5 separate regions of the Homo sapiens genome follow, and regions 1, 3, 4 and 5 are each linked to region 2. Evidence: promoter capture Hi-C in human tissues and cell types (Jung and others, 2019). All regions are on one chromosome and are shown on one strand. Each heading gives the region's core, a stretch centred on a gene start or on the middle of the fragment in contact. The rest is flanking DNA. Distances are from core to core; before and after follow the strand shown.

Region 1 (5,614 bases), core at 1,550-4,049, 1.0 Mb after region 2:
CTGGAGTGCAATGGCGCGATCTCGGCTCACTGCAACCTCCGCCTCCCGGGTTCAAGCGATTCTCCCTGCCTCAGCCTCTCAAGTAGCTGGGATTACAGGCGCCCACCACCATGCTCGGCTAATTTTTGTATTTTTAGTAGAGACAGGGTTTCACCATGTTGGCCAGGCTGGTCTCAAACTCCTGATCTCACTTGATCCACCTGCCTTGGCCTCCCAAAGTGCTGGGATTACAGGCATGAGCCACCGTGCCCTGCATATTATATGGCATTTTTAGCAATGCTATAATTAATAAATATGGAGTATGTCTTTGTTGACTTATCCAGATATATCTGTAGTATTAATTTCTACTTCAGTTCTTGAGCCAAATATACATGTGATGATAACATTGCAGGTAATTTTGATAGAGAATGCAAATTTCACTTTAAAAAAATTAGATTCCTACTTTGTGGGTGTATGAAAAGATCAATTAATTTGATTAAGCCAATTTCAAGAAAGATCATGCTATAATGGCCATGCTATTTAGGTTCACCTGGACTCCTGGTACAAAGATTTTCCACGTTCCAATCCAAGATATGAAACCTCCCCCACCCTTGGCATTCTTCAACTCATGGGATTTGTGTTAAAGTTAGCAATGGAGTTTGATTAATTAATTAAATCCTCACATAATTGAAGCACATGCAGATACATAACAAGTTCACTATCCAGAATGCTTTTAGTAACATTTTTTATGCCAGTATAAACTCAAAATATCTCAAATGTCCATCAGCAGTTAAAAAGACATACAAATTTTGGTATATTAATAAACGAAACATGATACAGCCATGAAAATACATGAACCGAAGTAAAACTTCTTGCAAAAATAGAATGGATTACACAAACATGTAAAGTGACTGAAGTCAGACCCAAATGAATACATACTATATAATTCAGTTTACATAAAGTGTAAAGTAGCCAGAAGTATAGTATTGTGTTAGAATTCAAGATAGTGCTTATTTTGGGGAAAGGGAGGCTAGAATCGGAAGGGAAATAAAATAAATTTCTGAAAGGCAGGCAATCCCTTGTTCTTGACCTGTTTGTGATTACACAGGCATTTATGTTAAAAACATGGAGCACTGTATACACTACATACTTTACTGTATATGTATTACGGTTAAAAATAAAAAATAAAAAGAACACAAAATTAAAATCTCATAGTTGCACATGCTAACCATTATATCCCAAAACATGGTTACAATTTTCTCAGCACTTCATAAATATTGCTTTACTAAATTTTTGTTGGTGTTGTTCATCAAAACGATCATATTATAATGTCTTAAGAATAGAATCGAGAGGTGTGGAAAACTTTTCCTGATATAAACAATGTTCATTAAATATTCTTTCTGATCATTTTATTTCAGAATGGTAACTTATAATATAAAGTCATTTATATCCTAACAATATCTATCTACTCCATCAACACATACAAAATTGTCAGAATACCTACATTTAAATAGTACATTTCATCTTATCTTTTCTAATGTTTTGCCAATTATTTATTTTATTAACTCAAAATAAAGAGAATAGAATTAACTATTAGTGGGGACACATCAAAGTTGTAAAATTTTATCATGTATTTCTAGAATATAATATATGTTACCATTTTCATAGCAAATTTAAAATACTTTGAAATGACAAAGGGAAAATTGGACAACAGAAAAATATGTAAAATGGTAAGTTAATTAAAGCTTATTATAATATAAGAATATTCCTGGTAAATTCCCATCATGAAATTAAAAACTATATTATCAGTTAAAATTTTTTGCAAAAAATAATGTAACATATTTTTATATTTTTACTGAATTTCCATTTTATGTCCATATCAATTTAGATATTATTATTTTTGAGCAGCTTTTCAAGTTTTTTGCCCAATTTTCTAATGGATTGTCATTCTTTTATTTATTGATTTATACAAGTGCCTTATATAATCTGAAATCAGGTCTTTTGTTAGAGATATTTATTGTAACTATTTTTCTCCTGTGGTTTACACTCTTTTTTCTTAATGTTTCTTTTGATAAAAATGAATAATAATATTGTTGTTTAAGCTTTTAGCTTCTATAGCTACGAGAGATATTGACTATTAATATATTTCAATATTATTTTCAGGTTTTAGTGTTAAGAATATGTTACATTATAAAGTATGTTAGGAAAGTATATTGTAACTCTAGGTTTTTTGAATAATTTCATGTAAGATCTTGGAGATTTCCTTCTTAAATATATGGAAAAATTGACTGTTGAAAATTAATAAAATTTAAGGCAGTGGCCCCATTTCCACAGCTCCACTAAGCAAAGCCCTGGTGAGTACTGTCTACAGTGGTTCTGCCTCTGTGGCAGGCTTCTGCCTGAGGATATATCCTCCGAAACCTAGGTGAATGTTACCAAGCCTCCAGCACTCCTGCATTCTGGGCATCTGCACACTCAATACCATGTGGAAGACAGAGGGGCTTACAGCTTATGCCCTCCAAACGCTTCCAACCTCTCCCCATTGCCCAGTTTCAAAGCTGCTTCCACATTTTCAGGTATCTTTACACCATCCCTCCTTTGGTACAGATTTACTGCATTAGTCTGTTTTATGTTGCTATAAAGAAATATCTGAGGCTGGGTAATTTATAAAGCAAAAAGGTTTTATTTGGCTGACACTTCTCCAGTATGTACAAGAAGCATGGCATCAGAATTGCTCCTGGTGAGGGTCTCAGATTGCCTCCACTCATGGTAGAAGGAAAAGGGGAGGCAGTGTGTGCAGAGATCACATAGTAAAAGAGGAAGCAAAAGAGTAGGAGAGGGGTGATGCTAGCTTATTTTTAACAACAAGCTCTGGAAGGAACTAATAGACCAAGAACTCACTCAACTCTCACACTAGAAAGGTTAATCTAGTCATGTGAGATCTGCTCCCGTGACACAAACACTTTCCATGAGGCTCCACCTCTAACACTGGGGATCACATTTGAGAGTGATCATCACATTGGGGATAAACATCCAAACATAATAGAATTCCTTTCAACTCATTTTCATTATAGCTTGTCTCTATTTTTTTAGTACTGTGTCTTTCATATTGAGTATAAATAAGGTATTAATCGCAATATAAAATTCATCACTCTTCTGTCTTTCTGCCTTCATAGTGTTTTAGTTTGCCGAGTCATCACTGTTAATGCTTGGATATAATGTTCAGATGCTGGTTTTTGAAGTATGTGTGTATATATATATATATTTTAAATATACCAATAGACCAAGAATATTTTCCATGCAAATGTCCATAAAGGTTACAAGAAATAATATTTACTCTAAGTCAAAAACAAATCACAATTTTGAGTTTGACAGTGAAAGATTTTATTTTCAAAATTTATTTAATTGTTCACGTGATATTATTTATTTAATGTGAATAAGGGTCACCTTAGCTAAAGGCCGTATACTTTTGGATACTTTTCCTCCCCACATTCAGTATTCTGTTTTGTTTAAATACAAGCATATTTATTCTTTCTTTCTTTATTTTTTTATTTTCTTAAGATAGAGTCTTGATCTGTAGTCCATGCTGGGGTGCAGTGGTGTGATGTTAGCTCAAAGCAGCCTTGAACTCCTAGCTCAAGCAATACTCTTGCCTCAGCCTCCAGAGTAGCTGGGACTACCGGGCATGTGCCCCTATGCCTAGTTTTTTTTTTTTTTTTTTTTTTTTTTTGTAGAGACAGGGTCTCACTTTACAAATATCTTTATTCTTAATGAGCTTTTGCTACTTTCTGCATGTTTTAAAGGCTACATAGCTAAGATTATTACACAATAAATTAGGAGAGGATTTTAACATTTCAAACAATTCCAAAGAGGAAAAAGGAAGGTGGTGAATCCTGTCTTGTCTTTATAAATGAAACGCGTCCCTAAAGGAGCTAAATTGGGATCAAGGAACCAAGAAAAATCACTCAGTAAAGATAATCTATCTTATTATCTATATGAAAGTTTAAATGTATTCTTATAGGAAACATTGACTCCATAGAAAATTGGTATCTTTAAATAAAATATTATGAAATATTTTTTATAAGAAACTCTACTTCAATCTTACCTATATCCATATTTAGGCAGACTGCCTGAGCTCAGGAGTTTGAGATCAGCCTGGGCAACACGCCAAAGCCTCATCTCTACTAAAAATACAAAAATTATCTAGGCGTGGTGGCGCATGCCTGTAGTCCCAGCTACTTGGGAGGCTGAGGCACGAGAATTGTCTGAACCCTGGAGGCAGGGGTTGCAGTGAGCTGAGATCCTGCCACTGACCTCCAGCCTGGGCAACAGAGCCAGACTCTGTTTAAAAAATAAATAAATAAATAAATAACATCTCCCCTATCCTTTTGAATTTTACATATGATTTGCAGTTTATTATATACCTAATATTTTACCTTCTCATTGATTCCTCTATAAACATTGCCTTTGGACAATCAGAAGAATAAATTACTCCCTTTTAAAACTTCACATTTGGCTGGTAAGATTTTTTTTTCTCCAGTGTTGTGTGGTTCATCATATTAATATTTTGCATTATTTGTACTTTATATATAAAAGAAACCTTGCTCATTCTGAATTTAAGTGTTTTTAAACATTCTAATGACAGTAGAATTTTTTTAATTTTTAAAATTTTTTTAAATTTCTTAAGTTTCAGGATTATGTGAGCTACTGTACTTCTTTTTAAACTTCGCATTTAATCTTAACATTTTTGTTGCTTAATTTGAAAAAGAAGTTGGTAGATTACATTCATGATATTAATTTTCAGGTAAAGTGATAAAACACTATAGCAAAACTTCAACCGAATATTGTAGATGTTTTTTCTTTATATATAACATTATTAAATAGAGTCGAAATCACCATTATTATACAAATGCTATCACAAAATGATGCTAGTGATGTCAGTGTAGAAGCTGAAATGACAATTCATATGGCACAAATGGTATTGCCAGAGGTGACATGATTTTCCAAAATGTTGAACCACTCTAGATTACATTTCAAAGAAAGCAAAATACAATCTCCATATAATTTATCCAGTACTTTAATTTGACGGGCCTGAAAGCTATGTAAAATTTATTTTATATTTCTGTGTAAAATGGAAGGCTATATTTAAAGTAGACTTCTTATTCAAGTCATTTGTCTATTACATAACTTTATTTTTCTTACAAACTCTGATAATAGGTTGTCTATTTTCCTATTCCTTCTTTCTCTCCCCCAACACACATTATCTATTTCTAATCAACTTCTAATCATTATTTCTCTCCCAGTTCACACACACACACACACACACACAGAGTCATGTACAAAACATACTGTCATATACACACAGTCTGAATGTAAACTTCTGAGATCTATGTCTATCTTCCCCATTGCTCTATCCTCTATACATTGTAATTATTCAATAAATATTTGTTAAAGAAATAAATAATTTTTATTTTCATCATTTTATTTGAAATAAATGTACTGTTCCTCTAAGTGAATTACATATAATCATTTAAAACCCAAAGTTATTATGACAAGATTAGAACAATTCAGCCAGAACACTGCAGTGATAGTACTAGTAGCTGTCTTCCATGGTTATTTTATCGTTAACTACCAA
Region 2 (6,001 bases), core at 530-3,029:
CTTCTAAGCGCTCAAAGGCAGGACCCATCTTCATGAAAGAGCCAAGTGCGGGGGCCGGGGGGACCCGGCGTTGCGGGGAGTTGGGGCGCGGAAATCAGGGCAGTAGACGTGCATTCGCGGGACTCTCAGAAGCACGTCTCAGGCTACTATCACGCCCATGGACACTAGCCCTCCTTAACTCCTTGCCAGGAGGAAATGGCAACGTATCTCCAGGTCGGAAAACGACTCTACTTTTCCCGCAGGTTGTGGTGGTGTATTCTTGGGTCATTCATTACCAGAAAGCAGCAAAGGACCTTCCTATCTCTTTGCATAAAAAGGAGATTGAATAGGGGCTTCTTTCGTGAATAAACAACCAATTCCTTGCTAGTGGCCCATTAATTAAAAATATATATTTATAGATCTTTCCTTAGAGAACTGGCATTCTATCCACTCTCCAGCATTAAAGAGTTCGCGCTGTGTTTTAACTTCACAAGAACTAGCTATGTGGATGTGCCGCGTTGCCCCTGCGCCTCCGGAAGGGGCACTCACAGCTGGTCAAGCGCGTCCTTCGGAACTCGGGGAGGCTCCGTTGGGGCTTACACAGAGCTAAGCCCTGGGCCAGGGAGGATGGATGCAAGTACCGTGCATGTGCAAACGTGTTCGCAGATACCCGCAGCGGTGCACACTCGGGCCCCTCGTGTGCACGGGCCCTGCCCACCACCCCGCCCGCGTTCGCCGCCGCCCCACTGTCCTCATCCCGCGGGCTGACCCCAGGATTGGCAGAAATCAGTGGTCTAATCTAGCATGGTGGGTAAAGGGATCGATCTCCAATTGCCAAAAAAAAAATAGAAAATAGCCGGTGTTCCCAGCCGCTGCGTGGCACTTGGCCGCACAAGGCGCAGGGATATCAGAGGCGCTTTGCAGCGCTTGGCGGTGCTGTGTGCCGGATGCCCCAGAGCCCGGCGTTAGGATGGCGGGCTTGTAGGAAGCGGCTCAAATCAACTCCTCAGTCACTGATGAACGCGCTCACGGCTCGAAGCTAGGTCCTCGAGTGAGTTAATCTACTTGGTAAGTATTTTGTGAATATGTATTTTGGGAGGAAAGAAGCACGTCGAACGCGTCTGCCCGTCTGTAAGCGCTGTCATCCCCACATCCTTTAGCGTGAATTCCTCCGCTTTTTAGGAGTCACCTCCACCCCCTACTCCGTATGCTTCGCGCCTTTCCTCACGGCCCCGTCAGACCCCCTCACCTTTAGATTGACACATGCCATATAATACTCACTTTTAAAATGCCCTGCCAGTCTCTGCTAGGGTCCCTTAATTAGGTAACCCTTGCCAATTAGTGGGCCCTGCGCTACTTTTTCCCTTCTCGATGATTTATTTCCATGATGCGTATTAGGGAAAATACCTTAAAGGAAAAAGAATGTTAGCATCATTGGAAATCCCGCTCCTAGGAGAGGATATCGCAGCTGTTGCTATTATGTTTTCGCATTTGCTGATGCAAACAGGGGAACCTCTCTATTCCCTCCCCATTACCTGCGGCTGGGGACTGGGAACTTTCCGCGGCATTGTCCCCAGCCAGCGCCTCGGGACCTGCGGGGCTGTTCTCGCTCTCACACTCACACTCACCCCGGCCGCTCGGGCGAGAGTTCTGTCCCGCCCCGCCCGGCTGCCGCGTGACGTGTCTGTTTGGCGGCCAGTTTGGCCAATCATCGGCAGCTCGGTGGGTGGTGCTCCTGGGCGATTGGTTGGCAGAATGAGGGCGCTGCGCAAAAACGGAGAAGCCGAGCGCTCGGAGCTCAGAAACTGCCAGCCCAGACCACAGGCTCAGAGGCTGAAGCAGGAGGAAGGAAGGACTGGAAGGAAAAAGAGACAGGTTAGAGGGAAAGAGGCTTGGGAAGAAAACAGCAGAAAAGAAACTGCTCATTACACTTACAGAGAGGCAAGTAACGGTGGAGATGAGGACAGAGGGAACCAAGACTCTGAAAGACAAAAAATACAAATAGAGCGAAAGAGGAAAAAAATGTCAAGAAGAACATCCATCCGGAGAAATGAAGAGAATGAAAGTTTTAAGCTGCAGAGCCGTTCTGTGCTTTTCCGGCACAAAATTATATCGCTGATTTTAAGCCCTTTTGCATTTGCCAGCCGTTGACATTAAGAGGCATGTTTAACGGTGCCAACAGCATCTCCTTTTCCTTCTCCTCTTCCTCTTCTTCTTCTTCCTCCTCCTCCTCCTCTTTTTCCTCCTCCTCGTTCTCCTCCCATCAGCAAGAAGACAAACCGAGGACAGTCTTGAAATATCGAAATTTCCTCTTTGGGATTTGCCAGCGCCAAGACTGTCGGAATAAAGGACGCTGACTATTGTATTATTGTTATTTTATTAATTAGTCAGTGGAAAGATTACAGATGAGGAAAGGGGACGCCTGTCACCCTTCCTGTGCTAAGATTTAAAAAAAAATGAGGCTGGATTGCGGGAAGCTCTAAAATGAAGCAAAAGGAGTAAGATTTTTAAAGACAGAAAGCCACAGGAGCCCCCACGTAGCGCACTTTTATTTGTATTTTTTCAGATTTTTTTTTGTTTCGTGGTGGTGGGGGAGGTGATTGGGTGGCTGACTGGCTGCGGGAAGCTACTTCCTTTCCTTTTGGAGATGATTGTGCTATTATTGTTTGCCTTGCTCTGGATGGTGGAAGGAGTCTTTTCCCAGCTTCACTACACGGTACAGGAGGAGCAGGAACATGGCACTTTCGTGGGGAATATCGCTGAAGATCTGGGTCTGGACATTACAAAACTTTCGGCTCGCGGGTTTCAGACGGTGCCCAACTCAAGGACCCCTTACTTAGACCTCAACCTGGAGACAGGGGTGCTGTACGTGAACGAGAAAATAGACCGCGAACAAATCTGCAAACAGAGCCCCTCCTGTGTCCTGCACCTGGAGGTCTTTCTGGAGAACCCCCTGGAGCTGTTCCAGGTGGAGATCGAGGTGCTGGACATTAATGACAACCCCCCCTCTTTCCCGGAGCCAGACCTGACGGTGGAAATCTCTGAGAGCGCCACGCCAGGCACTCGCTTCCCCTTGGAGAGCGCATTCGACCCAGACGTGGGCACCAACTCCTTGCGCGACTACGAGATCACCCCCAACAGCTACTTCTCCCTGGACGTGCAGACCCAGGGGGATGGCAACCGATTCGCTGAGCTGGTGCTGGAGAAGCCACTGGACCGAGAGCAGCAAGCGGTGCACCGCTACGTGCTGACCGCGGTGGACGGAGGAGGTGGGGGAGGAGTAGGAGAAGGAGGGGGAGGTGGCGGGGGAGCAGGCCTGCCCCCCCAGCAGCAGCGCACCGGCACGGCCCTACTCACCATCCGAGTGCTGGACTCCAATGACAATGTGCCCGCTTTCGACCAACCCGTCTACACTGTGTCCCTACCAGAGAACTCTCCCCCAGGCACTCTCGTGATCCAGCTCAACGCCACCGACCCGGACGAGGGCCAGAACGGTGAGGTCGTGTACTCCTTCAGCAGCCACATTTCGCCCCGGGCGCGGGAGCTTTTCGGACTCTCGCCGCGCACTGGCAGACTGGAGGTAAGCGGCGAGTTGGACTATGAAGAGAGCCCAGTGTACCAAGTGTACGTGCAAGCCAAGGACCTGGGCCCCAACGCCGTGCCTGCGCACTGCAAGGTGCTAGTGCGAGTACTGGATGCTAATGACAACGCGCCAGAGATCAGCTTCAGCACCGTGAAGGAAGCGGTGAGTGAGGGCGCGGCGCCCGGCACTGTGGTGGCCCTTTTCAGCGTGACTGACCGCGACTCAGAGGAGAATGGGCAGGTGCAGTGCGAGCTACTGGGAGACGTGCCTTTCCGCCTCAAGTCTTCCTTTAAGAATTACTACACCATCGTTACCGAAGCCCCCCTGGACCGAGAGGCGGGGGACTCCTACACCCTGACTGTAGTGGCTCGGGACCGGGGCGAGCCTGCGCTCTCCACCAGTAAGTCGATCCAGGTACAAGTGTCGGATGTGAACGACAACGCGCCGCGTTTCAGCCAGCCGGTCTACGACGTGTATGTGACTGAAAACAACGTGCCTGGCGCCTACATCTACGCGGTGAGCGCCACCGACCGGGATGAGGGCGCCAACGCCCAGCTTGCCTACTCTATCCTCGAGTGCCAGATCCAGGGCATGAGCGTCTTCACCTACGTTTCTATCAACTCTGAGAACGGCTACTTGTACGCCCTGCGCTCCTTCGACTATGAGCAGCTGAAGGACTTCAGTTTTCAGGTGGAAGCCCGGGACGCTGGCAGCCCCCAGGCGCTGGCTGGTAACGCCACTGTCAACATCCTCATAGTGGATCAAAATGACAACGCCCCTGCCATCGTGGCGCCTCTACCAGGGCGCAACGGGACTCCAGCGCGTGAGGTGCTGCCCCGCTCGGCGGAGCCGGGTTACCTGCTCACCCGCGTGGCCGCCGTGGACGCGGACGACGGCGAGAACGCCCGGCTCACTTACAGCATCGTGCGTGGCAACGAAATGAACCTCTTTCGCATGGACTGGCGCACCGGGGAGCTGCGCACAGCACGCCGAGTCCCGGCCAAGCGCGACCCCCAGCGGCCTTATGAGCTGGTGATCGAGGTGCGCGACCATGGGCAGCCGCCCCTTTCCTCCACCGCCACCCTGGTGGTTCAGCTGGTGGATGGCGCCGTGGAGCCCCAGGGCGGGGGCGGGAGCGGAGGCGGAGGGTCAGGAGAGCACCAGCGCCCCAGTCGCTCTGGCGGCGGGGAAACCTCGCTAGACCTCACCCTCATCCTCATCATCGCGTTGGGCTCGGTGTCCTTCATCTTCCTGCTGGCCATGATCGTGCTGGCCGTGCGTTGCCAAAAAGAGAAGAAGCTCAACATCTATACTTGTCTGGCCAGCGATTGCTGCCTCTGCTGCTGCTGCTGCGGTGGCGGAGGTTCGACCTGCTGTGGCCGCCAAGCCCGGGCGCGCAAGAAGAAACTCAGCAAGTCAGACATCATGCTGGTGCAGAGCTCCAATGTACCCAGTAACCCGGCCCAGGTGCCGATAGAGGAGTCCGGGGGCTTTGGCTCCCACCACCACAACCAGAATTACTGCTATCAGGTATGCCTGACCCCTGAGTCCGCCAAGACCGACCTGATGTTTCTTAAGCCCTGCAGCCCTTCGCGGAGTACGGACACTGAGCACAACCCCTGCGGGGCCATCGTCACCGGTTACACCGACCAGCAGCCTGATATCATCTCCAACGGAAGCATTTTGTCCAACGAGGTAAGGCTGAAGCGAAAGGACCACCATCTCTCATCTCCTCCATCAGAAAGCCTCCTCTAGCCCGGCCCTTGTATCTCTGGTGCACTGTATCTATTTTTAGGATATTAGCTTATGTGTATCGTTGTGGGAGCAGAGATGGGCGGTCACCTTCTCCCACTCCTTCGTGTGTAACCTAACTTTCGCGTTGTTCCACCCTTTCACATTTATTTTCATTCCGTCCCCTTGGTACTTTGCCACCTTGGAGCTCCCTCCTTTGCTCTTCCATCCTGTCAGTCCTTTCCCTTCTCAGTAACCTGGGCATGAAGGGAAACTGCGTGAAGGGAGAGGGAAATGTGGAGGAGGGACTTACTTTCTAGCACTGGCAAAGGTCTTTTTTCTTTGCGTCTGTCCCAGGCATTAATAAAGTTGGCTCTATTTTGCTTTGTTTAACGATGCTTTTAGTCGCGTGTACAAGTAAGCTATAGATTGTTTAACTTTACACAGTTGTCTAACCTCGAATTCATGTTTTAGTGAACAAGTTACCAGATCCTTCTCCTCTGAACTCGGGTTGCAAAAAAAGCCTTCAGTTCGGCTCTGGACAGCATTTACAGACGCTCTTGAAGCCGAGCGCCCACACAGTGTGAATTTGAATGAAGCTGCGTTGGCACAAACCCCTGTTAAGAGTAAACTAACGAAAGGCTTAAACAATTGTTGTCTTAAATATATCTTTTTAGCTAATAATCACCTTCTTGCCACTGTTTTGGA
Region 3 (6,301 bases), core at 3,588-6,087, 1.4 Mb after region 2:
CCTCCCTATGTCCACGTATACTCATTGTTCAACTCCCACTTATGAGTGTGAACATGTGGTGTTTGGTTTTCTGTTCTTGTGTTAGTTTGTTGAGAATTATGGTTTCCAGCTTCATCCATGTCCCTGCAAAGGACATGAACTTGTCCTTTTTATGGCTGCATACTATTCCATGGGGTATATGTGCCACATTTTCTTTATCCAATCTATCATTGATGGGCATCTGGGTTGGTTCCAAGTCTTTGCTGTTGTGAATGGTGACACAATAAACATACGTGTGCATGTGTCTTTATAGTAGAATAATTTATGATCCTTTGGGTGTATACCCTGTAATGGGATTGCTGGGTCAGATGATATTCCTAGTTCTAAATCCTTGAGGAATCACCACATTGTCTTCCACAATGATTGAAGTAATTTACATTCTCACCAACTGTGTAAAACCATTTCTATTTCTCCACATCCTCTCCAGCATCTGTTGTTTCCTGACCTTTCAGTGATCACCATTCTAACTACTGTGAGATGGTATCTCATTGTGGTTTTGATTTCCATTTCTCTAATGACCAGTGATGATGAGCACTTTTTTCATGTTTGTTGGCTGCCTAAATGTCTTCTTTTAAAAAGTGTCTGTTCATATTCTTTGCCCATTTTTTGATGGAGTTGTTTTTTTTCTTGTAAATTTGTTTAAGTTCTTTGAAGTAAAACACTCTTCAGCAAATGCAAAATAATGGAAATCATAACGAAGTCTCTCAGAACACAGTGTAATCAAATCAGAATTCAGGATTAAGAAACTCACTCAATACTACACGACTGCATGGAAACTGAGCAACCTGCTCCTGAAAGACTACTAGGTAAATAATGAAATGAAGGCAGAAATAAATATGTTCTTTGAAACGAATGAGAACAAACACACAATGTACCAGAATCTCTGGGACACATTTAAAGCAGTGTGTAGAGGGAAATTTATAGCACTAAATGCCCACAAGAGAAAGCAGGAAAGTTCTAAAATCAACACTCTAAAATCACAATTAAAAGAACTAGAGAAGCAAGAGCAAACAAATTCAAAAGCTAGCAGAAGACAAGAAATAACTAAGATCAGAGCAGAACTGAAGGCGATAGACATGAAAAACCTTCAAAAAATCAATGAATCCAGGAATTAGATTATTGAAAAGATCAGCAAATAGATAGACAGCTAGCCAGACTAATAAAGAAGAAAAGAGATAAAAATCAAATAGACACAGTAAAAAATGATAAAGTGGATAGCACCACAGATCCCACAGCAATACAAACTACTATCAGAGAATACTATTAACACCACTGTGCAAATAAACTAGAAAATCTAGAAGAAATGAATAAATTCCTGGACACATACACCCTTCCAAGACTAAACCATGAAGAAGTCGAATCCTTGAATAGACCAATAACAAGTTCTTAAATTGAGGCAGTAATTAATAGCCTACCAACTGAAAAAATCCCAGGACCAGAGGAATTCTCAGCCAAATTGTACCAGAGGTACAAAGAGGAACCGGTACCATTCTTTCTGAAACTATTCCAATCAATAGAAAAAGAGGGAATCCTCCCTAACTCATTTTATGAGGCAAGCATCATCCTGATACCAAAACCTGGCAGAGGCACAACAACAAAAAAGGAAATTTTAGGCCAATATCCCTGACGAACATCAATGTGAAAATCCTCAATAAAATACTGGCAAACCGAATCCAGCAGCACAACAAAAAGCTTATCCACCAGGATCAAGTCAGTTTCATCCCTGGGATGCAAGGCTGGTTCAACATATGGAAATCAATAAGCGTAATCCATCACATAAATAGAACCAATGACAAAAATCCCATGATTATGTCAACAGATGCAGAAAAGGCCTTCGACAAAATTCAACAGCCCTTCCTGCTGAAAACTGTCAGTAAACTAAGTATCGATGGAACGTATCTCAAAATAATAAGAGCTATTTATGACAAACCCACAGCCAATATCATACTGAATGGGCGAAAACTGGAAGCATTCCCTTTGAAAACCAGCACAAGACAAGGATGCTCTCTCTCACCACTCCTATTCAATATAGTATTGGAAGTTCTGGCCAGGAGAAACAGACAAGAGAAAGAAATAAAGTGTATTTGATTAGGAAAGGGTAAGTCAAATTGTCTCTGTTTCCAGATGACATGATTGTATATTTAGAAAACCCCATCATCTCAACCCACAATCTCCTTAAACTGATAAGAAACTTCAGCAAAGTCTCAGGATACAAATCAATGTGCAAAAATCAGAAACATTCCTATACACCAAAACCAGACAAACAGAGAGCCAAATCATAAGTGAACTCCCATTCACAATTGCTACAAAGAGAATAAAATGCCTAGGAATCCAACTTACAAGGGAAGTGAAGGACCTCTTCAAGGAGAACTACAAACCACTGCTCAAGGCAATAAGAGAGGACACAAACAAATGGAAAAACATTCCATGCTCATGGATAGAAAGAATCAATATCGTAAAAATGGCCATACTGCCCAAAGTAATTTTATAGATTCAATGATATCCCCATCAAGCTATCATTGGCTTTATTCACAGAATTGGAAAAAACTACTTTAAATTTCACTTGGAACCAAAAAAGAGCCCGCATAGCCAAGACAATGCTAAGTAAAAAGCACAAAGCTGGAGGCATCACGCTACCTGACTTCAAACTATACTACAGGGCTACAGTAACAAAACAGCATGGTACTGGTACCAAAACAGATATATAGACCAATGGAACAGAACAGAGGCCTCAGAAATAACACCACACGTCTACAACCATCTGATCTTTGACAAACCTAACAAAAACAAGCAATGGGGAAAGAATTCCCTATTTAATAAATGGTGTTGGGAAAACTAGCTAGCCATATGCAGAAATCTGAAGCTGGATCCCTTCCTTACACCTTCTACAAAAATTAACTCAAGATCAATTAAAGACTTAAACATAAGACCATAAAAACCCTAGAAGAAAACCTAGGCAATACCATTCAGGACATAGGCATGGGCAAAGACTTCATGACGGAAACAGCAAAAGCAATGGTAACAAAAGCCAAAATTGAAAAATGGGATCTAATTAAACTAAAGAACTTCTTCACAGCAAAAGAAAGTATCATCAGAGTTAACAGGCAACCTACAGAATGGGAGAAAATTTTTGCAGTCTATCCATCTGACAAAGGGCTAATATAGTCTCCTTTCTTAAGTGAGGCAATCAGAAAAGACTACTTTCAATCTCATACTACTGTAACAGTGAAATAATTGTGTCTTTTCTCCACTCTTTCTCCAATTATAATAAAAGACATATATCTTTTTAGGTCAAAGGTAATTTTTTTATTTGTGTTTTGGGACTGTTTTTCCCCACTCTGGAACACCACTGACAAAACTTTCTCATATATAATCAATTATTTCTCATTAGGGGCATCTTCCCTTTAACACATAAAGAGATACACATCAATCCATTACACAAATAAACAAAAACAGCAATGACAACAAAACAAATTATCTCCAACTATAATGTCTCTTCATACTAACAATCATAATTACTCAAAAAGCTTTTACATTTCTTGTTGCCTCACCTTATTACACAACTCCGTATATTCTATGATCTGTGCTGCCGCCCAAATTTAAATTATTTTTGCAAGAATTGAAAATGATTTCAGTATTACTAGTTAAGTGTGAACTCCTCAGTCATTTTTCTAATTGCTCTATTAGAAGCAACTTAGTTATTCTTTCTCAGCTTTTCATACCTTGACTGTTGTCACACCACTCTCCTGATTAGTATTTTTTAATTCAATTGTATCCTTGAAGACTCTATATGGATGACCCACAGGGAACTTAAAAATGATGCCATCCCACTCTCAATAAATCAGTTATTGTGTCTGCTTTGAGGCCACTATATGCCCAGTTGCCAAAAAAAACTCTGCCTCTTTGTTGATCCTATCTTTTTATCCCAAGGCTATATCAAAGCATCCATCAAAACTACTCTTATATTTTCTAAACATTATTTAAATACCTCCACTGATATCTATCACCCAGTTGCTGTCTTTATTTAAATGTTTTATGATCTCGCTTAGTCCTGTATAATCTCTCTTATATGACTTCCTATCATAATGATTTCTAACACCAATATAATTTTCTCACTGTACATCTAGTAGTCTTTCTAAAGTTAAAATGAAACCTTGTGATTTCACTGTTTAGTGGCTTTCCATTTTCTCTTGTTCAACTCCAATTTTGAAATATTGTATTGAATTTCTTGAATATCTAGGTATGGTTGATGTCTACAGATTTTCTAATGTTCTTCTCTACATTTGAAATACATCAATAACTCTCCTTCAGATAATCCTCCTTCTACCAATTCTCAGTTGCTGATAAGTACAACCTTAAGCTGTAATGATTCCAACTTCCACTTTCACAAGCAAACTTGTTTTTCCCCCAAGATACTGTCCTACATTTACTGTAGCATCTTAGTAACTTAAGAAGAGTAAAACTGTGCTAATATTTTAGTAGCTTTCTTTATTTTTATTTCTGTGTGTCACTAAAAAAGTGTTTAACTGTTATGTCTTAGTTCCAATTTTCTCCAAACATTTATGGTTATTACCACATGATTTTGCATTTTGTTATAATTCTTCCAAATGCATAGATTGCATTATAGGAGAACTGACTATGCTATTACTTATGTCATATTATATAGGATAAATAATATGCTTAGCAAAGATCTATAGTTTTTTCAATGACATATAGTATTGTAGAGCTGGGATAGAAATGCAAGGAAGCTTGCTCAAAAATATATTCGTCCCAAAAGTCATTATTAAAATTCATATATTGTCACCATTATGTCCTTGATATTTAACAAGGAAAAAGATTTTGTTAATTGAATGAATAAACAAATGAACAGAAGATGTTAAGTAAGAAGTATGAATATATTTAAACATATATCTTAAGTTATTTTTCCTTTTGTGAGTTATTTGGTAATATATTTGATGTTGTGAATTAAGAATTTGAACCATTGTGTATCATTAAGTGAGAAAAAATAGAATATTGCATATAACATGATACTACCAGCTATTTTATATAAATGACATACACACATATAGGTAAAAACAAAAACTGTTCATTAACGTTTTTATTTTTCAAAATCATGTATCATTTTGAAGTATGTGTAACATTGTAAAGAAACAGCATGAACTCTCATTTATTCAGTTTTTGTCTGTTTTATTTAACCTCCAAGGGCAGACAACACTTTTTAAGACATTTGTTGAAGATAATTCAGGTTATTTGCTTTAAGTATTTCACATGTGACAAAGGATTTTTGCCTCAGAGAATGACTGTCATGTTCAAGGCAATACATTTCTCATAAAATAAATTATAAAAGAATTATGTTTTCTATGATGATTATAATCATACTGCTATATACTTTAAATTTTAAATATTTATATGATTATTTACTCCCAAAATACATTTTGTTGAATTTTCAAAAGAAAATATTAAATTCTCCAAATATTCAAGTGTTCATAATAAGGAACTTAATTAAATAATTTACAATTAAATGTAAAAACTAAATGCACTGTAAAATAGATTTTCGCTGGCATAATGTTATTTTCCAAGGAAAGAGTAATCATTATTTGTTTATCAAGAAATTTTCATATGTAAATTTTGTTGAGGAATTACTTATACACGCTTATCAGCACTTTTTAATTAATCTTTTGATAAAACTGCTAGTTTCTATTTTAAAGTATACTAATAGAGAAGAATGATTTAAGCAAAACAGAGAATAACTTTCTTACTTATTAAGAAAGAGATTTTGTGTAGTCCCTGGATGTTAGGTAGCTGTGCTAGTTAATTTTTACATGTCAACTTGACTGGATTAAGGGATAATTCAATAACTGGAAAGCATTATTTCTGAGTGTGTCTGTGAGGGGTGCTTCCAGAGGATGTTGGCATTTGAGTTGGTAGACTGAGTAGGGAAGATCTGCCCTCCATATGGCTAGGCACTAGGCAATCGACTGGGGGCCTGACTAGCACAAAAAGGCAGGGGAAGGGCAAATTTTTGCTGTCTTCTGGAGCTCGGCCACTCATTGTTTCTTGCCTTTGGATGTCGGAACTCCAGATGCTCTGGCTTTTGGACTGTAGGATTTGCACCTGTAGCCCCCTGGGCTATTGGGCCCTTAGCCTTAGATTGAGAGTTATGCCATCTGGTTTGAGGTTTGGGGACTTTGAAACAGGCTATCGGCTTCCCTGGTTCTCCAGCATGTAGATGGGCTATTGTGAGACTTCTCAGCCTCTGTAA
Region 4 (5,827 bases), core at 3,071-5,570, 1.3 Mb after region 2:
GAAAGAAAATCTCAAGTTACTAGCAGAAATTTTCTATCTACCTATCATACTTATCTATCAATCTATCACTAATCACTAAATAAAAATGAACTATCTTTTTTTGGTATTTGAATCAGAAATTATTACTATCATAGTTATACAAAAATATTATTTTAATATTGATATATTGAAACACAGTCATAATATAGATTTAAATATAAAGGTGGCATTCTAGATGGCAAATTTTAATATCTATTTCTCAATATAATTGAAAAATAATGAATTCATTTGTGTTGGCATGCATGGTTTCATAAAATACTATAAAATTTGTTCTGGTTTTGACTTACAGTCAAATTCAGATTCAGAGTCTTCATCAATCTGCCAAAACAATTTGTAAAGACTGGAATTATACATATTTCTGATTATGTTACTATATTGAGTTTGCTTTTAATCAATTTAAATGAAGAATTTATGGCCTATGGTATTTTCTGACTTGTCCTGCCATTTAATGAGTAGATATAGCCAATCTCCTATGAAAACCTGAAAAATCAAAACAGCAGGCATCTGTTCTTGTGGAATAGACTAAAATTTCAGTATAACAGCATTTTGAACACAATTCAGCATTAGGCAAATGGACTTTGGACCCTCTCCAAGGGATTTGATTACCACAAACACCAGAAGTTCCCTTCATTGCACTGTACTGCCCATCAGGATTCTGAGAACAGCATTATATTAAAGCTCTCTTGTTCTTATAAGTGAATAATTTTATAGCAGCTACAGAAATATATTTTGCAGTTCCATTCCAGTGGGGAAGGAGGGAGAGTTGACTCTGGTAGTTATAGCTATAAACTGAAAGATGTAAGAATATATTTTCTCAAACTATGGGATAGTTCCTCAGATCAATGTTCTTAACTATATCCGAAAAGAAAATTGAGACCTAGGTTTTCAAGTTAACAACCATTGCTTTATATTTCCTTTTTGGTGGCTCAACTTGGAAGCCAAATAGTTTTAAAAACCTATAGTCAGGCTATTACAAAGTCTGAATCAGTCTAAAGTAATTAATTCATAAAATCTTGCTATTGCTTATAAATACTGCTTATTGAAAGAAATTGTGCATGCTATAAAAAGAGAACAAGTAAATATTAATTTGGAAATGTTAAAGAAAGTAGTCAGAAGACATTTTGGTACTCACCCACACATCTTTAAACATAGCTATAGTTATATGAATTATCTCTTAGTTTGTATATACAGGCTCAGTTTGAGGAAAAATGAAAATATGTGGACCAGTTCTAGCAATGTTGAGTGTCAAATTTTTTTGTACAAATGACAATTTTTCACGTAGATTCAGAAACAAAATATTCTGTTTATATTTAAAGAATTTGCCCAAATGCATTTAAATGTCTTTCTTATAGCAAAAGCTAATAAACCAACAAAAAATTGACCTCATTGTCCCCAAACTATCACCACTGAAATGCTTCTTAAAGCGCTAAGGTTTTCAGAAGTACAATAGGACAAATAAGCTTGGTTGTTTATCTCTCTCAAAATACATTTACAGTAAAAAAATTATTAGTTAAATTAGTTTATGATTCTACTGCACTGTATAATTCAAAAAAAATCGCCAAATTTTTCATCTGCTTTCATGTCCTTTCCTATAAACTCTTGTATTTTCTATATTTCTGTACCATAATTTTTGTGGGATGTTGAGAGAAAAAGTGGTTAATGTCTGTGCATAAGCCACCTGTTTTTTAATCCCTATTTTGTTATTTTAAAATATTTAACTGACCACCTCTTAGATGGGCAAAACTCCTTTGCTTCTTAGAAAATTTTTTCTTTCATGTTCATGCCTGTTTTCTCAATTTCATCCCGCATTAATACTATTTCTGAATCAGAGCAAAAAAAAAATACAGAAATAAATGTTCTTTGCGTTTTTATTTTTCCCTAATCAACGCTTATTACAAATTTTATAAAGGAGTAACTGGTATACAGATTTTCTCCCAATGTAAACAACTAGAAATCTGGACTAAAGGTCTGAAACAATGTTTTCACTCATTGGAATGATATGAATTACAGCATTATGCTTCCTGAGAGACAGATCCACACTGAATTGCTCTGTCTTTTTGTCTGAAGGTAAGTTCTGGATTACAGAGCGAGAAGAGAAGCAAAGCAAGCAATACAGTCTTGTCTTGAAGAGACAGACTGTAGTTTGGGAAGACTGGGAATGCTGCAATTTGCGGGGTAAAGCAACAGTAAGGAGGGAACTCAAAAATACATATAGTGGTTCCCGTTTTTCTTGACTGAATATTAATCTGCATGTGCACAGGGTGAAACTCCACAAAGTCAAGCAATATCGACTGCAAACAAATTGTAAGAATATTAATTCCCAGGCCACACACAAGGATGGAAGACAGTCAGTGTCCAGAGAGAGTAAAAAAATCTTGTTGAATACTTGAGATAATTAATAGAAGCCTCAGACGTTTCACAACTGGCTAACAGAGCTATATTGGCCCTTGAGTAAATTCCACTTCAGATCCAAAAAATAAAAATAAACAATAAAAAAACCACAAAAGCCTCCTTTTAAAACTTATCTACCTCCCAAAGCAAACTTCAATAGTCTTTAAAAGAAGTCAACAAAATCTAAACACTTGACAAAAAATAATGTACAATATCTGGGATCTAGTAAAATAATCACTAGCTAGGTAAAAAAACAGACCTGTGAGCCACATGAGAAAAATCATTAAAAATAAAGTAAAATAAGGAAATTAAAAAAAGGATAGATTTACCATACAAGAACTTAAATAGAACTATTAGAAATGTTTAAATATTTGTTTCATATAACAAGTGTACACACACATAAGTATATATAAGTTTACTTATATACTTATTTATTTTAGGGATTGACGTATGCAATAGTGGGAGCTGTCTAAGCAGTCTCTGTCTGACTGTTGTCTTCAGGTCTGATGCTGTATGTAGTCCACAGAGCAGGAAGTCAAGAAATGAATGAGATGGACTAAAACTGTCATCAATTCTTAGTGACTCTGACCTTAAGTGGTAAATGTCCTGAAAAAGCTGGGACCCTTTACCACAGATCTAACCATACACAATTCTGGCCCAGGAGTCAAAGAAGCTTTAGGAGAATGACAGAGAAGTTGGGGCAGTTGCAAACCTGACCACTTCTCTCCACAAAGGAGGTGAGGCAGTGGATAAGCAATGATGCGTACGAGCTGCAAAAAGACTGCCACTTCACTTCTACCTTTCAATTCCCCACAGGAAACTTTCTTGTTGCCTATTCTAACTGGAAAATGCAGGAAAGGAATTCTGAGAAATGTAGTTTAGCTCAGCGGCACAGGCACATCACTAAGCCACTGCAATATTCGAACTATTATAGAAGAACATAATGCAAAAGATACATAAAAATATTTAAATAAGAACCAAATGGAACTTCTAGAGATAAAATTTATAATATCAAAATTAAAATATCCACTGGGTAACTTTAGCAGCTATATCACAGTAGGTCAAATCACCAATAAATTCAAATAAAAAGCAATAGAGAATACCTATATTAGCCAGCTCAGGCTGCCATAACAAAACAGCACAGGCTGGGTGGCTTGAATAAGAGAAATGTATTTCCCCACAGTTTTAGAGGTTGGAAGTTCAAGATTAGAGAGCCAGCCTGGCCAGTTTCTGGTGAGGACCCTCTCCCTGGCTTGCAGCAGCTGTCTGCTCATTGTGTCCTCCTATGGCCTTTCTTTTCTGCATGCATGTGTGGAGAGATGGAGCTCTCTGGTGTCTTTTCCCAGAAAGACACTGACATTATTGTATCCAGCCCCCACCCTCATGACCTCCTTTTCAACCCTATCTCCAAATACAGTCACATTGGAAGTTAGGGCTTGAACAAGTGAATTTTGAGGAGATAAAATTCAGTCCCTAGCAATATCTAAACTGAAGCACAAAGATATATTTTTTTAAATAGACAAATAAATTAATCCAAGCCTCAGTGGCCTGTAGCAAGTATTCTAATTTATATGTAATTTGTATTCCAGAAGAAGAGGAGAGCAAAGTAGAAAGTCAAAAAAGTATTTGAAAAACGGTGCCCAAACTATACCAAATTTAGTGAACGCTATATCCCCTGTGTTGAGAATCTCAGAAAGTCTCTAGCAGAATAAACATAGAGTTACACTAAGAAAAATCTAAATCAAACTGTTGATATACAATGCTAAAAAAGAAAAATGTTAAAGCAGCCACACTAAACATTTGAGAACAAAAATAAGAATGGTTATAGACATTTCATTAGAAATGAAGAAAACAAGGAGTGAAACAAACTAATTAAGTTGCTGACAAAAATTACCAAACCTTAATTTATATATAGGAAAATATCTTTCCAAACTAAAAGTGAAATATTTCTCAAGCGAACAAGACCTAAGGGAATTCAGAGCCAGCAGACATACACTAGAAGGAATATTAAGGAAAGTTCTTCCCTGGCTGAAGAAAACATACCAGGTGGAAACACAGAACTACAGTAGACCATGAAGAATGCTATTTCTGAGTGTGCGGTAAATAAATATTAAAGACTTTTTCCCCATCTTTTAGTTCATTAAAAGATGACTATTAAAACCAAAACATAGTAACTGTATTGTAGGCCTCTCAAGACATCTATTAAATGTATGGTAAAAATAACACAAAGAACAAGGGCAGAAATGGAAGTTGTAAAATTCATGTTATACGTATTAAACATATATGTTATACATATTATTGTATTATACATCAAGCAGTGAACTATAAATATTGGACAAATATGATAAGATAAAGCATTTTAAAATTATATAACAGTGACCCTAAAAATAAAACAAAAGAATATGGCTAAGTCAATACTAGATACATAATTGAGGAGAAAAATAATTACTTTGAAAGAAAAAAAGGACAGAGAAAAAGGAAGACAAATAGAATGCAAATACAATTGTATGCATAGCCCAAATATATTGAAAATTATACAAAATATAAGTGATATGCACATTCCAGTTGTAGGTCTATATAAGAAAGTAAGAGCCAATTATATGCTGTCTATATGAAAATTATTTTAAATATTGAGGTATAGTCATGTTAAAAGAAAGGATGGGTATAGTCAATATACCATGCAAAGTCTAATAATCAAGAATGTAAGTGGGAATACCAATATTAGGTAATGAGAAACTTAAAAATAATAACATGGATAAAGAAGGACATGTAATTATAAGAAAGTTAATTTATCAAGAGACATAAACACATCCTAAATGAGTATGCACTAACAACAATACTTTTAAAAGTAAAAAAATTGTTAGAATCAGAAAGAAAAGAGGACACATTTTAGAATTACAGTTGGAAATTTTGTCTGTCTTTTCTCAATTATTGATAGACTATGTAGATCCAAAATCAATAAATACATAGAAAATTTGAGTGATAACACCAATTATGTTGACTTAATTTGTATTATACGCTATGCTGCAACAGTAGTCTATGCATAATTTTTAAGTTTGTAAAATATTTTAAAATATATGCCATATGCTGGGTCATAAAACAAATAGCATAAAATAACAATTATCTGACTATAATGGGATTAAATTAGTAATCAAAAATAGACAGATAACTAGGTTACCCCTAAATATGTAAAATTAAAAAATACACTGGTTGATAACTTGAAGTCCAAGAAAAACATCAAAGGGAAATGTAAAAATATGAAATAATACATAATGAAACATCTTAAAAACTGTTCTGTGGCTAACCCAATACTGAGTTGGAAGTTTACAGCTTTCAATGTTTATGGTAAAGAGAAGAAAGGTCTTAATTATTTGGTCTAATCTTCCATTTTAAGAAT
Region 5 (5,550 bases), core at 2,049-4,548, 1.1 Mb after region 2:
TCCATGTTGTAGCACATATCAGAAAATCATACCTTTTTGAGGCTGAATAATATTCTATTTTATGTGTATGCTATTCTTTGTCCATTCATATGTTGATGGGCATTTGGGTTGCTTCTACCTTCTGGTTATAATAAAGCTGCTATCAACATCAGTGTACAAATATCTGTTCATATTTCTGCTTCCAATTTTTTTGGGTACTCAGAAGTGGATTACTGGATCATATTCTATGTTTAATTTTTTTTTGAGAAATTGACATGCTATAATCCACCACTGCTATTTTTCAGCAAAACCTAATGTGTACAATGAGAAGGTCAATTGAAGAGTATGTTAGATAGTGATGAGGGGGTGAAGGGCATTGGAGGGAAGAGAAAATTTGAAACTGAGGTGACATCATGATGCAGAGGCCCTGAGGCCACATTGGCTAGTTCTGAAGATGCTGAAGGCTTAAAGGAGGACAGCATGTGGTTGGCCATGAAGACAGGAAAGGAATTGGGTTAAACACGATTTGCAGACCTGGTAAGGTGCCAGATAAGACAAGACCATGTAGGCCACTGCAGTGTGTTTTCATTTTATTCTCTGTACAAAGAAAACACTGTGACAAATTTTCAAGTAGGACTATCCTAGGGCTTAAATTTTATCATACGAAAAATAGGAGTAAGGCAAGAACATATGAAGTGAGACACCTTAAGAGGCTATTACCAAAGTTCTCCAGGTATGACTTTATTATTACCTTGCATGAAGAAGGTGGGGTTTGTGATATGGACTTAGGAAACTTGGTGATGAATCCAGTATAGGAAGTATAGGAGGTAAGAGAGATAGAGGTGGCAGGATTAACTTACAGCTTTTTGTTTGTAACAGCTCAATGGATGTTTGCATCATTTACCAATGAGGAAGAGATTGTGGGGGAACATGTTGGTTTGGGAAATTTCAGATTAGAAGTGCCTATTAGAGATATGAAAATCCTATGATTTAAAAAGTCTCTCCTTGAGTTTAGAGTTACCTAAAGAGGAAAAACTTTGGAAATTATTATTTTTTTCAGATTTGACTTAACCTGCAGAGATATAGTGATCCTATAGAGTAAGCGTTTTTTTTTTTTCTTTTTCTTTTTTTGTTCATTTTACTCTGGAAGCCAAAGATGACTGCATTATTAAAAGAAAACAAAGATAACAAAATGTACCTGAAACCTTCCTTCAAAAATCATTTTATTTCATAGAGACACTAAAATTTGTTACTCACAATTACCTGGTAAATTTACCCTATATAATTTGTCAAATGTTGTAATTCAGGCAAAATATGTACTACCTTCTCAATATATTAATACAAAATGACCTGACTATACAAAACCAATTCACTGTATATATCTGAAATCTCACAGTTGACTTTGTTTTATAGATTTCTTCTCAATTTTATTGTCTTCTGCCTTAGTAGAGTGTTCTCTGCATATTACATTTTAGTCATTACTACTGTTTGGTTGGACTTTGTGAAGTCTTTTTTTTTTCTTTTTCCTCATGAATAGAAGTGTCCTGGCAAAGAAAATCAATTTGTCACCCATTCTTAGGACTGTAAAACTGTTGCCACTTGGTCACTTACAATCTTAGTGTGCATTGAATTTTATTGGTTTTATGCCACCTCACAAGTAGCTCTTTGCCTTTGATATTTTACAATATTATTATGTAATCTGGTGAAACTACTTCATGTATTTCTTCTAGAATACATTTCAAAAAAAATCTGCACAGGAGCTCAGAAACATATTAAATAAGGCTAAAATATGCCATAGTTCTCCTGAGGTGATTCTTGTAGGAAAAAATAAAAAATAGTTTACATTTGGTAATATATGTGCCATGTTATCATTACTAGAAACATTAGAAAAAGCATAATTGACATTGTACTAATATGGTAGCAAGGAAAAATTATCACTTTGATTTTAGGGCTATGATTTTTTTTCATATTTTTATGGTTATATGACTCTATCATGTGTTTTGTTACGTGTCCTTCCAACTACCCACTAGCCAGGAGAAAAATAAAGCTACTTTAGGAAAAAATATAGAAGAAGAAGGAGAAGAAATGAAAGAGGAGGAAGAGGAAGAAGAGGATAACTTTAATGAAATTTGACAGTTATATGAAACTGTTTTCACTGGTTATAAATATAATAATATATAATTCATAATAATATAATATTTCAGAAAATTAGAAAATACAAAAAAAATAGAAGAAGGTACTGCCAATGGTAATTCTTTTCACAAGAAGTAAACATTGTTAACATATTCTCGTATATTCTCCAGTATTCGATGTATAATGAGATTCAGCTGATTTTTTTACTTGCCTTTTTTCATTGAAAGCCAATCACAATTTAAATAATAATATAAACTACTTCCAAATACTGTTTCACCTAGTGTTGAAAGGCATTATTATTCTCATACATGTCTGGTAAATTTGCATTGTAAAACTTGTCAGTCTGGATTATTGACATAAAATTTTTGACTCTCTGCATTTACCTTTAAAAGTGGCATGCTTATACAGATTATTTTAGACATTGAGAGGACAAAGATGACCCATATGAGACAGCAATAAAGGGGCTAGAGATGGCCATGATGACCCTGCCTAGACTGAGTTGGCTAGACAATAACAGTCCTCTGACAAATCTGTAAAAGTTAATTCACTGAGAATTAAGAGTGGTAGCAGCCATTTAAAGAACAAAAGAAAAGATATCTAAACATATATGCAAGATTGTAGAAAGACACAAAATATATTTCTTGAAAAGAGTCAAAGGTAGACAAGTTGACCCTTAGCTGAGGCTTCTTTTAAATATTCTAATATTAGTGATATGATATGCATTGTGATAGGAATGTACTTGTAGTTAGACAGGCTTGTGTCCAAATTTTGAATTTACTTCTTATATTTGTATGAATTGTGCATGTCATTTAACTTCTCTAACTTGGCTCAGTTTACTCATCATTAAGATGATATTAATTATAAGATTTCTTCATTGGATTCTTGTGATTATTGGATGAAATTTGTATAAACAGCTTAATACAGTGAGTAACATATAGTAAATGATTAATTAATGGTACAAGTAAATGACAGCTATAGAGATATTTCTTACATCACTGATTTTTTTCTACTCGAATTGCTATATTACCCAAATAAACAGATATCATATATTCTATTCATATTGCTATTCCATTAAAATGTACAACTTATTTAAATTATCCATGATACTTCAAATGTGTAAAGAATGTCCATTTTCATCTGCTCTATTTTGTGATTTTTAAAGAATACAGGCATATCATTTTATTGAACTTCACAAATGCTGCTTTCTTTTTTTTTTTTTTTTTGAGAGGGAGTCTTGCTCTGTAGCCCAGGCTGGAGTGCAGTGGTGCGATCTAGGCTCACTGCAAGCTCCCCCTCCCGGGTTCAAGGGATTCTCCTGCCTCAGCCTCCTGAGTAGCTGGGACTACAGGCGCATGCCACCATGCCGGGCTAATTTTTGCAGTTTTAGTAGAGACGGGGTTTCACCATATTGGTCAGTCTGGTCTCGAACTCCTGACCTCAGGTGATCCACCTGCCTCAGACTCCTAAGTAGCTGGGACTACAGGTGCCCGCCACCATGCTTGGCTAATTTTTTTGTATCTTTAGTAGAGACGGGGTTTCACCGTATTGGTCAGGCTGGTCTCAAACTCCTGACCTCAGGTGATCAGCCTGCCTCGGCCTCCCAAAGTGCTAGGATTACAGGCGTGAGCCGCCACACCTGGCCAAATGTTGCATTTTTAACTAATTGAACCTTTGTGGCAACCCTGTGTCGAGCAAATCTATGGGTACCTTTTTTTTTTTTTTTTTTGAGACAGAGTATCGCTCTTGTTGCCGAGGCTGGAGTGCAATGGCATGATCTTGGCTCACTGCAACCTCCACCTCCTGGGTTCAAGGGATTCTTCTGCCTCAGCCTCCTGAGTAGCTAGGATTACAGGCATGCGCCACCACGCCCGGCTAATTCTTGTATTTTTAGTAGAGACGAGGTTTCACCATATTGGCCAGGCTGGTCTTGAACTCTGGACCTTGTGATCCGCCCACCTCAGCCTCCTAAAGTGCTGGGATTACAGGCGTGAGCCACCGCACCCAGCCGGGTACCATTTTTTCAATAGCAGGTGTTCACTTCCCATCTCTGTGTCACATTTTGGTAATTCTTAAAATATTAAAGTGTTTTTTTTATTATTGTATCTGTTCTGGTCATCTGAAATCAGTGATCTTTGATATTTCTATTGTAATTGTTTTGGGGCTCCATGAACTGTGACCATATAAAGTGACAAACTTAATTGATAAATGTTCTTAATTGACATGTTCTCACTGCTCCACTAACCAGCCGTTCCTCAGTCTTTCCCCTCCTCTTGGGCTTCCCTGTTCTCTGAGACATAACAATATTGAAATATACTGAAATATTTAAATTAGGCCAATTAATAACCCTATAATGGCATTTAGGTCATCAAATGAAAGGAAGAGCCACTTTAAATCAAAAGCTAGAAATAATTAAGCTTAGTGAGTAAGGCATGTCCAGATAGAAATGGGCTAAAAGCTAGGGTTCTTGACTTAAACAGCTTAGTTGTGAATGCAAAGGAAAAATTATCATAGGAAATTAGAAGTGTTACTCAAGAGAAGACACAAATGATAAGAAAGTGACAACAGCCTTATTTCTGATATGAACTAAATTTGAATAGCCTGGATAGAAGATCAAACCAGTCACAAAATTCCTTTAAGCCAAATCCCGATTTAGAGCAAGGCCCTAACTCTTTTCAATTCTAGGGAAGCTTGGAGAGGTAATGAAGCTGAAGAAAAGTTAAAAGCTAGCAGAAGTTGGTTCATGAGGTTTAAGGAAATAACCTGTCTCCATAATGTAAAGTGCAAAGTAAAGCAGCATGTGCTGATGAAAAAGCTTGAGCAAGTAATGCAGAAAAATCTAGCTGAGATAAATGCTGAAGGTGACTATAGTAAACAACAGATTTTAAGTGAAGATAAAACAGCCTTTTATTGGAGGATAATGCAATCAAGGGCTTTCATAGCTAGAGAGGAGAAGTCAATGCTTAGCTTCAAAGGACAGGCTTAATCTCTTGCTTGGAGCTAATGCAGCAGGTGACTTCAGGTTAAAGTCAGTATTTGTTTGTTCTAGAAATGGAAAAACAAAGTCCAGATGACAGCACATCTGGTTACAGCATGGTTTACTAAATATTTTAAGTTCACTAGTGAGACCTACTGCTCAAAAAATAGATTCCTTTTAAAATATTACTGCTCACTGACAATACCCCCAGTCAGCCAAGAGTTCTAATGAAGATGTACAAATGTTGAATGTTGTTTTCACACCTGATAGCACACCCATTCTGCAGCCCATAGATCAAGGAGTAATTTCAACTTTCAAGTTTTATTATTTGAGAAATACCTTTTGCAAGGCAATAGCTACCACAGATAGTGATCCCTTTGATGGATTTGGACAAAGTAAATTGAAAACCTTCTGGAAGGGATTAGCTATTCTAGATACCATTAAGAACATTTGTTATCCATGGA

What was found. Contacts are between HindIII fragments. The study calls those that stand out against the background at their distance.
Region 1: a fragment that was not itself captured here is called in contact with the fragment with the promoter of PCDH10 in region 2 in 1 of the 25 tissues and cell types used here (lymphoblastoid cells).
Region 3: a fragment that was not itself captured here is called in contact with the fragment with the promoter of PCDH10 in region 2 in 1 of the 25 tissues and cell types used here (mesenchymal stem cells).
Region 4: a fragment that was not itself captured here is called in contact with the fragment with the promoter of PCDH10 in region 2 in 1 of the 25 tissues and cell types used here (H1 embryonic stem cells).
Region 5: a fragment that was not itself captured here is called in contact with the fragment with the promoter of PCDH10 in region 2 in 1 of the 25 tissues and cell types used here (H1 embryonic stem cells).

The regions. Positions count from the first base shown.
Region 1 is chr4:134,150,129-134,155,742 of GRCh38, forward strand. It overlaps a transcript of PABPC4L not described here. Among named protein-coding and RNA genes, the nearest start is that of PABPC4L, 49 kb to the right of the region's middle. The HindIII fragment of the contact is 5,431 bases long and covers 85-5,515 here.
Region 2 is chr4:133,147,515-133,153,515 of GRCh38, forward strand. It overlaps PCDH10 (protocadherin 10), which reads left to right and starts at 1,780. Exons shown (of 5, transcript NM_032961.3): 1 at 1,780-5,257. The coding sequence starts at 2,627. PCDH10-DT (PCDH10 divergent transcript) reads right to left here and starts at 1,602. Exons shown (of 9, transcript NR_125885.1): 1 at 1,515-1,602. RefSeq lists an enhancer at 1,524-1,583 and a silencer at 1,694-1,833. The HindIII fragment of the contact is 10,822 bases long and covers 1-6,001 here.
Region 3 is chr4:134,571,046-134,577,346 of GRCh38, forward strand. No RefSeq gene overlaps it. Among named protein-coding and RNA genes, the nearest start is that of LINC02462, 150 kb to the left of the region's middle. The HindIII fragment of the contact is 4,379 bases long and covers 2,649-6,301 here.
Region 4 is chr4:134,461,881-134,467,707 of GRCh38, forward strand. The region is part of intron 3 of LINC02462 (long intergenic non-protein coding RNA 2462); the gene reads left to right. Among named protein-coding and RNA genes, the nearest start is that of LINC02462, 41 kb to the left of the region's middle. The HindIII fragment of the contact is 4,039 bases long and covers 2,302-5,827 here.
Region 5 is chr4:134,266,946-134,272,495 of GRCh38, forward strand. No RefSeq gene overlaps it. Among named protein-coding and RNA genes, the nearest start is that of PABPC4L, 68 kb to the left of the region's middle. The HindIII fragment of the contact is 3,125 bases long and covers 1,737-4,861 here.